5 separate regions of the Homo sapiens genome follow, and regions 1, 2, 4 and 5 are each linked to region 3. Evidence: promoter capture Hi-C in 16 types of primary human blood cells and fetal thymus (Javierre and others, 2016). All regions are on one chromosome and are shown on one strand. The core of a region is centred on a gene start or on the middle of the fragment in contact, and the rest is flanking DNA. Distances in the headings are between cores, read along the strand shown.

What was found. The method cuts DNA at HindIII sites, captures the fragments that hold promoters and counts their contacts. A CHiCAGO score of 5 or more calls a contact.
Region 1: a contact is called between a fragment that was not itself captured here and the fragment with the promoter of HDHD5 in region 3, in 6 of 17 cell types (total CD8 T cells, neutrophils, naive CD8 T cells and 3 more). The highest score is 9.0, in total CD8 T cells.
Region 2: a contact is called between a fragment that was not itself captured here and the fragment with the promoter of HDHD5 in region 3, in 15 of 17 cell types (M0 macrophages, M2 macrophages, M1 macrophages and 12 more). The highest score is 29.4, in M0 macrophages.
Region 4: a contact is called between a fragment that was not itself captured here and the fragment with the promoter of HDHD5 in region 3, in 1 of 17 cell types (naive B cells). The highest score is 6.7, in naive B cells.
Region 5: a fragment that was not itself captured here is called in contact with the fragment with the promoter of HDHD5 in region 3 in 1 of 17 cell types (naive B cells); the score reaches 5.3 in naive B cells.

What each region holds. Positions count from the first base shown.
Region 1 is chr22:17,635,986-17,638,685 of GRCh38, reverse strand. It overlaps a transcript of BCL2L13 not described here. Among named protein-coding and RNA genes, the nearest start is that of BCL2L13, 1.4 kb to the left of the region's middle. RefSeq lists enhancers at 88-267, 318-367, 1-791, 792-1,664. The HindIII fragment of the contact is 6,545 bases long and covers 1-2,700 here.
Region 2 is chr22:17,498,097-17,500,796 of GRCh38, reverse strand. It overlaps CECR2 (CECR2 histone acetyl-lysine reader), which reads right to left. Exons shown (of 19, transcript NM_001290047.2): 4 at 1,248-1,387; 5 at 62-166. Among named protein-coding and RNA genes, the nearest start is that of SLC25A18, 64 kb to the left of the region's middle. The HindIII fragment of the contact is 1,589 bases long and covers 491-2,079 here.
Region 3 is chr22:17,157,988-17,160,687 of GRCh38, reverse strand. It overlaps HDHD5 (haloacid dehalogenase like hydrolase domain containing 5), which reads left to right and starts at 1,411. Exons shown (of 8, transcript NM_033070.3): 1 at 1,411-1,562. The coding sequence starts at 1,437. HDHD5-AS1 (HDHD5 antisense RNA 1) reads right to left here and starts at 1,299. Exons shown (of 2, transcript NR_024483.1): 1 at 851-1,299. RefSeq lists a silencer at 1,400-1,729. The HindIII fragment of the contact is 6,885 bases long and covers 1-2,165 here.
Region 4 is chr22:17,435,250-17,437,949 of GRCh38, reverse strand. The region is part of intron 1 of CECR2 (CECR2 histone acetyl-lysine reader); the gene reads right to left. Among named protein-coding and RNA genes, the nearest start is that of CECR2, 67 kb to the right of the region's middle. RefSeq lists an enhancer at 1,824-2,384. The HindIII fragment of the contact is 656 bases long and covers 981-1,636 here.
Region 5 is chr22:17,481,292-17,483,991 of GRCh38, reverse strand. All of the region lies in intron 2 of CECR2 (CECR2 histone acetyl-lysine reader), which reads right to left. Among named protein-coding and RNA genes, the nearest start is that of SLC25A18, 81 kb to the left of the region's middle. The HindIII fragment of the contact is 8,324 bases long and covers 1-2,700 here.

The DNA of each region.
Region 1 (2,700 bases), core at 186-2,685, 480 kb before region 3:
GTATCCGGAGCGGAAGGACCGACCAACGGAGGCCCCGGAGGTCTCTCCGTCCAGATGTGACCTGAAGACCCAAACCCTCCTAGCCCGCCCAAATCTGATTGCGACGTTCGGAAGTTCCGTCTCTCAGATCATTTCCGGAGTCGAGGGGTTGGGATTCTGACCGGCTGGTCGCTGTGTTGGAGGAAGGGCAGGCGATTCCAGGGAAAGAAGCCTTGCTGCATGCACAGGCTATGTTCAGTTCCACAAACATGTATTGCGTTTCAAGTGTTTGCCAAGGGAGCAGGTCAAATAAGTATCTACACAGTCACGACAGCCTCGATGTTCGCCACTAGTTGGGGCAGATGGTCCTTGAAGGTTGGGAAGGAATTCCGGGGAGGGAATATAGCGGGGTGGTGTAGAGAGGTCCTCCTAGGCGAAGGGAACTGGCTGAGCAGAGGCGCCAGGGCATGAAGGAAGTCTTAACTAGTAACCCGCTTTTGTTAACAGTACCTGGAACACACAGCGCCTGGAACATACTTAACTTGTATTAATGGATGTTTGTTTACTTGAATCCGAGAGTTCTTTGGAGGAGTATCGGAAGGTATCTAGGAGAGAGGATACAGTGTGTTTTAGGGAGATCAAATTGCCCGTGGTGTGTGTACTGAATTGGAACAAGGAGGGCATTGACAATAAGGAGTTAGAAGACTGAGCCAGATCAGAAGTGATAAAATCCTGATGGGGAGTGACTGCCAGTGGATACAGAGTTTCTTTTTGGGGTGATGGTGGCACGACTCTTTGAAATACTGAAAACTACTGAATTGTACACTATAGGTGAATTCTATGTTATGAGATCTATATCTCAACAAGGCTATTCTAAAGGAAGTGATAAAAGAGTTGAACTGCTATTGTGGGGCTGGTGCCACAGGATGCTTTTTAAGCCCGAGTGACTGAGGAAAGGATGGTGCCATTAATAGGGACATAAAGTTTTGCAAAGGAAAGGCTTAGTGACCTTGGAAAACTAATAGTACAGGCCGGGTGTGGTGGATCACTCCTGTAATCCCAGCACTTTGAGAAGCCAAGGTGGGCGGATCACTTGAGGTCAGGAGTTTCAGACCTGCCTGGCCAACATGGTGAAACTCCCCATCTGTACTAAAAACACAAAAAATTAGCCAGGTATGGTGTCACGCGCCTGTAATCCCAGCTACTTGGGAGGCCGATGCAGGAGAATCGCTTGAGCCTGGGAGGCAAAGGTTGCAGTGAAATGGGTAACCAAAAATGAAGACTTTTTTTTTTTTTTTTTGAGGCAGAGTCTCACTCTGTCGCCCAGGCTGGAGTGCAGGGGCGCGATCTCAGCTCACTGCAACCTCTGCCTTTCGGGTTCAAGCGATTCTCCTGCCTCAGCCTCCCAAGTAGCTGGGATTACAGGCACCCACCACCATGCCCAGCTAATTTTTGTATTTTTAGTAGAGGCAGAGTTTCTCCACGTTGGTTAGGCTGGTCTTGAACTCCTGACTTCAGGTGATCCACTCGCCTTGGCCTCCCAAAGTGCTGGGATTACAGACGTGAGCCACCGTGCCTGGCTTTTTAAAAATTTTTAATAGAGACGGGGTCTCACCATGTTGGCCAGGCTAGTCTCCTACTCCTGACCTCAAGAGATCCGCCTGCCTCAGCCTCCCAAAGTGCTGGGATTACAGGGGTGCGCCACCGCGCCCGGCCCTAATTTTACTTTTAAGGTCTGTGCAGTTCACTGTATGTACACTTTACCTAAAAAAACTTTCAAAAATGTAACATGCAATAATTTATTTTGGGAGGTACTTATGTTACCAATTTGGTACATACTTAAGTTCATTTCTTTCACATTGCTCTCAGTCTTTTCCTTTATTTATTTATTTATTTTTTATTATTATTTTCTCGAGACAGAGTCTTGCTCTGTCACCCAGGCTGTAGTGCAATGGCGCGATCTCAGCTCACTGAACCTCACCTCCTGGGTTCAAGCGATTCTCCTGCTTCAGCCTCCTGAGTAGCTGGGATTACAGGCACCCACCACCACACCTGGCTAATATTTTTTTTTTGTATTCTTAGTAGAGATAGGGTTTCGCCATGTTGGCCAGGCTGGTCTCCAACTCTTGGCCTTGGGTGATCACCCCTCTCGGCCTCCCAAAGTGCTGGGATTACAGTCGTGAGCCACCATGCCTGGTCTTATTTATTTTTTTAGAGACAAGGTGTCGCTTCTGTTACCCAGCCTGGAGTGCAGTGGTACAATCATACCTCACTGCATCATGGACCTCCTGGGCTCACAATTGTTCCACCTCAGCCTCCCAAGTATCAAGGACCACAGGCTTGTGCCACCACATGTAGCTTTTTTTTTTTTTTTTCTTTTTTTTGAGACGGAGTCTCCCTCTGTTGCCTGGGCTGGAGTGCAGTGGCAGATCTTGGCTCACTGCAACCTCAGCCTCCTGGGCTCAAGTGATTCTCCTGCCTCAGCCTCCAAAGTAGCTGGGACTACAGGTGTGCACCACTATGCCTGGCTACATTTTGTATTTTTAGTAGAGACGGGGTTTCAGTGTGTTGGCCAGGCTGCTCTCGAACTCCTGACCCCAAGTGATCCACCCACCTCAGACTCCCAAAGTGGTGGGATTACAGGCGTGAGCCACCGCCCCAGGCCACACATGGCTACTTTTTAAAAGATGTTTTTGTAGGCCGGGCGTGGTGGTTCACGCC
Region 2 (2,700 bases), core at 36-2,535, 340 kb before region 3:
ATAAATGAATTAAGGTCCCTTCTGCCATGGTCTATGACCACAACTAACAAGATTTTCTTACCTCAACAGAATCTCCTCCTGCAGTTTCTTCCGTTTTGGGGGTCTTCCTCTTCTTTTTCCCGTTTTTCCAGGAATACTTGAGACATTTTTTTGTCCTTCACTTTCCCTAATAAATAATATTAAATAGAAATGTTCTGGCACAGGATTGGCATTGCTACATATGATTTTAAAACAGTATTTCTGGCCATGAGATTACCAAAAAGGATTAAATGTAGCAGTGAAAGGAAAAGGGAACAGCAACTTCCAGTCTTCATTATTAGACTGTGGATCTGAGGAAAACTAACATTTTGCAATACTAAAATGTGCTTAAGATCTAACTAACACCTTCCGAAGAGTAAGCATTCTCCTAGCAGTAAGAAAGCCTAAATAAGAGGTTAGCATTGTTTTGGGATGCTATGGAAATGCGGCCTCTTCCTTACTTAGTAAAGCTTATGTTTCAGGCATCATTTAAATTCCTTCTGTTCTTAAACTGATGGATACTAACGTTCATAAACTACATCATTAAATTCTTTTTTTTTTTTTTTTTTTGATGGAGTCTCGCTCTGTCGCCCAGGCTGGAGTGCAGTGGTGCGATCTCGGCTCACTGCAAGATCAGCCTCCCGGGTTCACACCATTCTCCTGCCTCAGCCTCCCGAGTAGCTGGGACTACAGGTGCCCGCCACCACGCCTGGCTAATTTTTTGTATTTTTAGTAGAGACAGGGTTTCACCGTATTAGCCAGGATGGTCTCGATCTCCTGACCTCGTGATCCGCCCGCCTCGGCCTCCCAGAGTGCTGGGATTACAGGCATGAGCCACTGCGCCTGGCATAAACTACATCATTAATTCTAGTCGAAATAAGGAGATCTCAAGGACTGATGATGCAAGATGAAATTGTTACTGCAGTGAAATGATTGTGCTGCTGAGAAGAAACCTGCTATATTAAAATAGCCTGTGGCAAGAGGAGTGGCATTTCTCAGAAACCTCCTATCAAGAACTTCAGATTAAAAAAGTATATTTAACCCCTCTGGTAGCAGAGAATTAATTCCTTTTTGTTTTTGCATGAAGTATCTCCTTACCATCTCTTTGCAGGCATGCTTAGAGAATTCCTTCATTAGGAAAAAAAAATTGTGCTGTAGAATTCTGATGCATTTAATCTTAATGACATTTTAATACAGTAGCTATCATGCCCTAACACTGAAGAACATACCTGCTCAAAGAGAGTTCTCCATTGGATTTTCCTTGCACCGGGTCCTCTTTGTACATTCGTGTTCCATAGAAATACCAATATAGTGCCCCAGAATTGTCTTCACCCAATGGCTCCACACGGAGACTGTCTGCATCCAGGCCCTACACAGAGCACGGAAAAGGGGTTTGGGGAAATGGGGAACAAAACGCACCAGGAAAAAACCAGAACGAGGATTCCAAATTTACACGTAAGCATAACTCAAATCTAAAAATGCCCAAGTATCGCTGGGCGTGGTGGCTCACGCCTGTAATCCCAGCACTTTGGGAGGCTGAGGCGGGCAAATCATGGGGTCAGGAGTTCAAGACCAGCCTGGCCAACATGGTGAAACCCCACCTCTACTAAAAATACAAAAAATCAGCTGGGCGTGGTGGCGCGCGCCTGTAATCCCAGCTACTCGGGAGGCTGAGGCAGGAGAATCGCTTGAACCTGGGAGGTGGAGGTCGCAGTGAGCCAAGATCATGCCACTGCACTCCAGCCTGGGCGACAGAGAGAGACTCTGTCTCAAACAATAAATAAATAAATAAATAAATAAAAATGTCCAAGTATCTTATGTAATTTTCAATCAGCATAAGAAACACGGATATAATGGGAAGGTGGTACCTACTTTGAGGAACAAGAGATGGAAATATTACAATGCTCCCTATCCCCACCATTGTTCCCTTTTCAAAAAAGAGAGAATCCAACAGCAATCCTGATGAACAGTTTACAGATTTGGCTGGGAGCGGTTGTTTTATGTGAGCACACACGAAAAGAAAGACAAGTACAACCGGGTGGATCAGGCACGGGGCAAGCTTTGCCCCATGGGATCCTCTGTGGCAGTTCCGGCATAACCTCCTGTGACCTCTCACTCCAGCTGAGTTCCAGTGACAGGGCTCCCAATTTACCTCGGGGGCTGACCTGTACTGGCCTTCTCACTGCTACTGAAGTCCTTGAGTCCTCAGCAAAGACCGTGCTAAATTACACAATGATTTTTTTATAATGTGCCCATAACCAGAGCTCAACTGAGAAGTCATCACCACATTTAATCACTGATGATGGAACAGGATTAGAAACTGACTTCCCTATGAGTGAAAGCAATAACCCACACTCTCCCTTGAGGATATACTTTTTTTTTTTTTTAAAGACGGAGTCTCGCTCTGTCACCCAGGCTGGAGTGCAGTGGCGCAATCTCGGCTCACTGCAAGCTCCGCCTCCCGGGTTCATGCCATTCTCCTGCCTCAGCCTCCCGAGTAGCTGGGACTACAGGCGCCTGCCACCACGCCCGGCTAATTTTTTTTTACTTTTAGTGGAGACGGGATTTCACCGTGTTAGCCAGGATGGTCTCGATCTCCTGACTTCGTGATCTGCCTGCCTTGGCCTCCCAAAGTGCTGGGATTACAGGCGTGAGCCACAGCACCCGGCCCCCTCTAGGATA
Region 3 (2,700 bases), core at 162-2,661:
CTTCATTTTATTATTATTATTATTATTTTTTTTTTTTTCAAGACGGAGTCTCACTCCGTCACCCAGGCTGGAGTGCATTGGCGCAATCTCGGCTCACTGCAACTTCTGCTGCCTGGGTTCAAGCGATTCTCCTGCCTCAGCCTCCCGAGTAGCTGGGACTTGAGGCGCCTGCCACCGCGCCTGGCTAATTTTTGCAGTTTTCAGCAGAGACGGGGTTTCACCATCTTGGCTAGGTGGTCTTGAACCCCTGACCTCCTGATCCACTCGCCTCAGTCTCCCAAAGTGCTGGGATTACAGGTGTGAGCCACCGCACCCGGCCCTATTTTATTATTTTTAAAATAGAGAAGGGGTCTCCCTATGTTGCCCAGGCTGGTCTGGAACTCCTGGACTCAAGTTTTCCTCCCACCTTGACCTTCCAAAGTTCTGGGATTACAGGGGTGAGCCACCGCACCCTGGCCTGCTAATGTGTGAGCTAGTGCAGTCTCTGTCCATATCCTCGACTCCCTCTCTGCTAGTGCTAAGTACATTGTAGGGTCCCGCGTTTTTAGCATAGCTATACCTATGAATGGGCCAAAGAATCTGAGGGCATCCTACACATTTCAAACGGTGGGAATGGAGACCTCTTTCCTCCAGCAGAATCTCCCCTCATGACCGGGGGACTACCAGATCCAGCTCTGCTAAGGGCCTCCACGGACGGAGTCGGCTACCTCTCCACTTTCAGTGACCGAAATCCATTCTTTGTTCATTCACCCTTGTGTCTACTCCGGGAAACGCGCAGCGGACACAGTCGTGTTCCCTAAGTGTTTGCTGACTTAGTCATCTGGCCCTCTCTGGAGTAGTCATTTTGTACCTTGTACTACATTCGTGCCTCTACCTCTCCGCAGTGCGCGCGGGGGCGGACTCACGTGCGCAGTCTCCCTATGCGCTGGGAGGGCGTCAGCAGGTTTACAGAAACAATGAAAGACTTAACAATTGGCGCGCGACGAGCGTCCCTTGACTGGCAGGGGCCCAGAGGACCTGAACATCACTAAGGGTCTGCCCCAGCGGCCCGGCCCTGAAGTCAAGGTTGAGACCCCCGGCCCAGACAGTCCGCGAAGCTGAGGGAGGCCGGCCTGGGGCCTGCCGCGCAATGTTACCGGGATCCGCAGGCACAGGGCGATAGTACGGACGCCGCCGCCCAGGCCGTGCCCATTGTGCGCCGCGGCCAGCTCACCGCGATCTCGGTCTAGGAGGCGGCGGGACCCCGCACTTCTTCCTTGCAACGGAGCCCCTTTGGCCTGCGGGTCGAGTTCCATAGGCGCCCGACGGGCTCCGCGCGCTTACAGGACTACAACTCCCGTGATGCCGCGCGCGCCGACCGCTGATTGGCTGTGCAGCGGACGGACTCGCGGGGGGGGGGGGCCGCACGCCGTGCACGTGCGCACGGCGACGGCCGGATGGCTGCGTGGGGCTGTGTGGCTGCGCTCGGCGCGGCGCGTGGGCTTTGCTGGCGGGCGGCGCGCGCGGCTGCGGGGCTCCAGGGCCGCCCCGCCCGCAGGTGCTATGCTGTGGGCCCCGCTCAGGTGAGGACGTCCGGGTTCTGGCCGAGCCACTCGCCACTCAGGGCCGGAGGCGGGGCGGGGAGCCGCGGGGAAGGAGGGGCGGCCGGGCTGGTATCCCAGCCTCCTGGGAACTGCCTGGACCGTCGTCGCGCCCGAGTGCATCGCGTTCTTGCTGGAGGGCGGATGCGCCCTGCCTTCCTCTGACTCGCTGGCGGCCTCGGAAACGCTACTCCCGCGGGAGAGCGCTCGTGGGACGGCCTGGGCCAGGCTGCTTGTCAGCCCCTGCGCTTCCCGGCAGTTTCCGCGTCCCTGTTTTCCCTGCGCGTCTTCTGATTTCCACCATGAGGACGTTTGGGTCGTGATTTTCATCTGCATGTGGAGGAAACTGGGCCGCGCGCCGGGAGCCGCGCCTGCGGGTGCTCCGCCCCCAAGTGCCTGTGGGTTTGGTGCGGGCCTTGGGTTCAGTTCAGCTCGCTGTGACCTCGACTGAGCGCTGGAGGCTCCGCGGGCGGGAGCAGGAGGGCTGGAGCCGGCGCCTGCTGTGTGCCCGGCGCGGTAGTGATGTGTGAGCCTCCCCGCAACTTCTGAGAAGGTGTGACCTTGTGTGGTCAGGAAGCCGAAGCTTGACGAGTTTTCAAGTACGTTTTCTCAGGTCCTGCAGCTGGGAGACGGCACAGGACACTAAACCAGGTTGGTCAGATCCACGGCTCTCACGCTCCCTTGGGCCGTTTTGCCTTTTCTGGAAAAAGGAATCACTTTGTCTTCTAAACGCACAAGTAATATTTTACATTAACATACGGATTTCACAGTAATCCTTGCATTTTTTTTTTTTAGACGGCATCTCTGTCACCAGGTTGGAGTGCAGTGGCGCAATCTCTGCTCACTGCAACCTCCGCCTCCCGGGTTCAAGCGATTCTTCTGTCTCAGCCTCCCGAGTAGCTGGGATTACAGGCACCCGCCACCACATCCGGCTAATTTTTGTATTTTTAGTAGAGACAGGGTTTCACCATGTTGGCCAGGCTGGTCTCGAACTTTTGACCTCAGATGATCCTCACATCTTGGCCTCCCAGAGTGGTGAGATTACAGGCATGAGCCAGTGCACCCGGCCAAATTACTTGCATGAAAAAAACACATAGTGCTTACTTTGTGCCAGGCACTA
Region 4 (2,700 bases), core at 59-2,558, 280 kb before region 3:
AGAAACTTTGTCCTTTTAAACTATTAAGTTACAGTGAGTAACATCCATCTTTCAAATTCATGGTCAACATTGGTTAACATTCACACTATACATCCTTGAAGTCGAAGGAAATTTTTCCTTTTATCTTTGTAGACACTATGGAAAACCTTCATCACTCCTGCTAAGAAGCAGTGATGCTCACCTTGCATTTTAAAGTCTGACAAACTTTAAAATTTTTTTTAATCCCTATACTATTTAGAAATTTCTATGGTCAACAGTGTGACACCTTGATAAGTCAAAGCATACATAAAAAGAAGTCATAAAAAAGCAGGAACTCCTACTTACAAAGTATGTCTACAGTAATATACTATGAAAAATCTATTTCAGGTCCTCAGTGATGGTATGGATGGGGAGGTACATAATGAAAAAGAAATATCATATGATCAAAAACATGTCGAGGAAGTGTACGTATGTGAGTTCCAATAAGCTGGAATTTAAATAGAAAGGTTGAAGTCACAGCAAGTAGATGAAAGGCGGCCCCTTTAACATTTGCTCCTGGAGTCCAGCAACTCTCAGCAGTTGGCTGGAGACTAAGCTGGCCGATCCTGTGGAGCTTCAACAAAGGGACGAAACAAACTGAGTCCCCAGGGCCCCCCTCCCGACAACGCGTGAAACAACTTGATAAATGATTGCTCTGTCAGGGGATGAGGAGATGGAGACGTCTGGGAGCAGAGGGGGAATGTATCTAATTTAGGAGGCCAAGGGGGAAGGGGAAGACATGGAAGGCAGAACCGCAGACAGGGGCAAGACCATCTAATGGCACTAACACTCGAGCAGAGAACTAGAAACAAACACCAGACAACCCAACAGCATCTCTGAGAGCTGCAGTCATCAGACTGCAGCAAGAGACTTGTCAGAGGCCAGTTCTCCCCAAGTCACTAGGATTTTAAAAGGAAAGTTTTCACCTTCCACAACCCATTCTCCAGCCTCAAGGCCAAGCTTCAGAAAGTGCTGCTCTCATATTACTTCATTCATTTGGGGATGACATGAAATACAAAATCCTTTTCCCCACCCCCAGTTCCTGCCTAAAGATTGCTGATTCAGGCCTGAAAGCCAGAGGCGCAAGAGCCCAAGGCTTAGCTCACTTAAGGAAACATTAATTACCCTGAAACAAAAATAGGAGTTCACATCTGGGGCTCAACACTTACCTTCTCCTCCGCCCCTTTTTCTAGAGTGTGAGCACCCGCTATTTATACAACCTCTTCCTGACTGAGGACTGATACTGGTCCCGCAGGACTTCCCTGTCTGGGGAGAACTTACTGGTGACAAACTCAGTCAGCATTGCACAGGCATTTCAGAAGTAGGAACAGAGGCAGCTCAACTTGAGAAAAAGGTTGTCAGAATTGGAAGTAGTACAAAAGCAGTTTCCCACAGAGTAGCTGGTTAATTCATAAGGGATACTCTGGCAGCTTAAGCATCTGATGAAAGACCATTAAGGAAGTTTACAAGTCAAAGGTGGGAACAAGCAACCCAAGTCTTTCTTCCGTCACTCCAGTTTCTTATTTTAGGAACTAGAGACAGCTAATGTTGTTGCTATAATAGAAGTGCTGTGTTGTATTATTGTGCATAGAACTTTATTTAAATGTTGAATTAAGCTTGGGCTGTAGTTGGCATAATTTAAGCTAACAGCAAATGGTACATCAAGAAACTAAAGGCCGGGTGCAGTGGCTCACACCTGCAATCCCAGCACTTTGGGAAGCCGAGGCGGGCAGATCACGAGATCAGGAGATCAAGACCATCCTGGCTAACACCGTGAAACCCCGTCTCTACTAAAAATATAAAAAATTAACTGAGCGTGGTGACACGCACCTGTAGTCCCAGCCACCCAGGAGGCTGAGGCAGGAGAATCTCTTGAACTCAGGAGGCGGAGGTTGCAGTGAGCTGAGATGGTGCCACTGCACTCCAGCCTGGGTGACAGAGCGAGACAGACAGAGGGAGGGAGGGAGGAAGGGAAAGAAAGAAGGTAAAGAAAAGAAAAGAAAGAAACTAAAGTTTCAAAAAATTTACCTTTGCTTTGCCCAGCACCCTTGGAGGATGACTGATAATTCATAGCTATGACCCCAAATCTAATTTAGTACAGTGTGTTTCAGAACATCTGATGTATTAATTAATTTGGCCAGAGAGACACTGTATAAGGGATGGGATGACTATGAGAAAAAATCACCGTTTCACTGGATTAAGTTGGATGGTCCTGCTCCTGTTTTTTTTTTTTTTTTTTTTTTTTTTAAGAATTAAAAGAGCTCAAGGGAGTCTATTCTAGACTCCCTAGAATGTGTTTGTGGCCTGTCCAGAATTTTCACTGGACCAAACAAAAATAGAACTTGCTAATTCCCCAGACATCTTTCTTGTCAGGTTACACAGTTCAAAAGGTGCTGAGGGCTTCCTAAACTTAGAGATGAGAGAAGAGGCACTGCACCATGGATCTAACTTTTGTGAATTCTAATCAGCAATTCACAAAAGTGAGATCTTACAATTATAAAACCCGGTCTCCAAATTCTACCTTGCTTTCCGATCTTTCTGCCAAGGTCTGAGTCTTAGAAATATTAGCAAATTCCTGTTCATGGACTGTCAATCTGAAAAGACTGTCAACTAGTCAGTTTCATGGAATGCATAAGAAATTGCAAACTGGTAGCAGGCAGCAACGTTTGTTTTGGTCTGTAG
Region 5 (2,700 bases), core at 145-2,644, 320 kb before region 3:
TGTAATGGAATGTTAAGGATTTGTGGATCCAGACACATCTAAACATAGAAAAGGTATAGTAAGGACATGGTACAAAAGATTTTTAAAATGGTGTATCTGTATAAAGCACTTGTCATGAGTGCAGCTTGCAGAACTAAAGTTGCTCTGGGTGAATCAGTAACTGAGTAGTAAATGAATGTGAAGGCTTGGCACATGACTGTACATCACTGTAAACTTTCTAAATGCTGTAAACTTAGGCTATACTATGTTTATTTTAAAAAAAACCTTTCCTTCAATAATAAATTTAGCTTACTATGACATTTAAAAATTCACAAACTTTTAACTTTTTGATTCTTTTGTAATAACAGCCTAAAACACTTTTTAGAGCTATACAAAAATATTTTTTTCTTTTTTTTTCTGCTCTGTAGCCACAGCTAGAGTGCAGTAGGGACCGTAGCTCACTGCAGCCTCCAACTCCTGATCCTCCCACCTCAACCTCCCTAGTAGCTTAGACTACATGCATGCACCACCATGTCCAGATAATTATTTTAATTTTTTTAGTAGAGACAGGGGTCTTGCTATATTGCCCAGCTAATTCATTTATTTTTATTTTTTAGTAGAGACGGAGTCTTGCTATGTTGCCCAGGCTGGTCTCGAACTCCTGGCCTCAAACCGTCCTCTCACCTCATCCTCCCAGAGTGCTGGGATTACAGGCATGAGCCACTGTGTGGCGGCCTTCTTTATATCCTTATTCTATAAGCTGTTTTCTATTGTTGAAATTTTTTGTTTTTTACATTTGATCTGTTTTGTTCAAAAGGAAGACAAAAACACACACATCGGCCTAGGCCGACACAGGGTCAGGATCATCAATATTACTGTCTTCCACCTCGACATCTTGTCCCACTGGAACGTCTTCAAGGCAGTAACATGCACGGTGCTGTCATCTCCTGTAACAATGCCTTCTTCTGGAATCTCTTCTGAAGGACCGCCTGAGGCTGTTGTATATTATAGTTAACTTTTTAAAAATAACTAGGCTGGGCGCGGTGGCTCACGCCTGTAATCCCAGCACTTTGGGAGGCCAAGGTGGGAGGATCACGAGGTCAGGAGATCGAGACCATCCTGGCTAATGCGGTGAAACTCCGTCTCTACTAAAAATACAAAAAAAGTAGCAAGGTGTGGTGGTGGGCACCTGTAGTCCCAGCTGCTGGGGAGGCTGAGGCAGGACACCGTCTCAAAAAAAAAAAAAAAAAAGGAGTTCAAAACCATCATGGCCAACATGATGAAACCCTACCTCTACCCCAAAATAAAGAAATTAGATGGGCCTGGTGGTGCACGCCTGGAGTCCCAGCTACTTGGGAGGCTGAAGTGGGAAGATCGTTTGAGACCAGGAGGTGGAGATTGCAGGGAGCCAAGACTGCACCACTGCACTCCAGCCTGGGTGCCAGAGTGAGACCCCGTGTCAAAAAAACTAAACAAAACTAGAAGGAATACACTCTAAAATAATGATTTAAAGTACGGCACAGTAAATACAGAAACCAGTAAGAGTTGTTTACTATCAACTATTATGTAGTGTACATGACGGTATATGCTATGTCTTGTCTCGCTCTGTCGCCCAGGCTGGAGTACGGTGGCATGATCTTGGCTCACTGCAAGCTCTGCCTCCTGGGTTCACGCCATTCTCCTGCCTCAGCCTCCCGAGTAGCTGGGACTACAGGCACCTGCCACCACGCCCGGCTAATTTTTTGTATTTTTAGTAGAGACGGGGTTTCACCATGTTAGCCAGGATGGTCTCGATCTTCTGACCTTGTGATCCACCTGCCTCAGCCTCCCAAAGTGCTGGGATTGCAGGCGTGAGTCACCATGCCACGCCCTTTTTTTTTTTTTTTTTTTTTTTTTTGGAGACAGAGTCTCGATCTGTCACCCAGGCTGGAGAGCAGTGGCGTGATCTCGGCTTCCTGCAAGCTCCGCCTCCCAGGTTCATGCCATTCTCCTGCCTCAGTCTCCCGAGTAGCTGGGACTACAGGTGCCGCCACCACGCCCGGCTACTTTTTTGTATCTTTAGTAGAGATGGGGTTTCACTGTGTTAGCCAGGATGGTCTTGATCTCCTGACCTGGTGATCCGCCCGCCTCGGCCTCCCAAAGTGCTAGGATTACAGGCGTGAGCCACCACGCCTGGCCTGTAAGTGCTAGGTCTTTATATGACTGGTAGCGCACTAGGTTTGTTTACACCAGCATCACCATAACCACATGAGTAATGCATGTGCAAGCATGTTACAAGGGCAATAATATCTCTAGGGGATAAAAATTTTTGTGTCTATCACAACCTCGTGTGACCACTGTCGTACATGAGGTCTGCCACTGAACAAAATGACAGTATGTGATGCATGCCTGTATTGACTATCTGGCCCTTTACAAAAAACATTTGCTGGCCCCTGTTCTAAAACATGCAAACCACAACGGAAAAGGATACAGACACTTGGTTGAGTCAAAATCTGTTTTCTGCTGAGCCTTTGGAGGAACTAGGCATAGTGTTTCATGATGATTACTCTCACTCATCATTTCGTTTAATCCTCATAATAACTTTACTGAATATTGTCACTAATTCCATTTTATAGATGAGGCGAATTATGCACAACTAAATGAAGTTACTTTTTTTTTTTTTTTTTTTTTGAGACAGAGTCTCGCTCTGTCACCCAGGCTGGAGTGCAATGACACGATCTT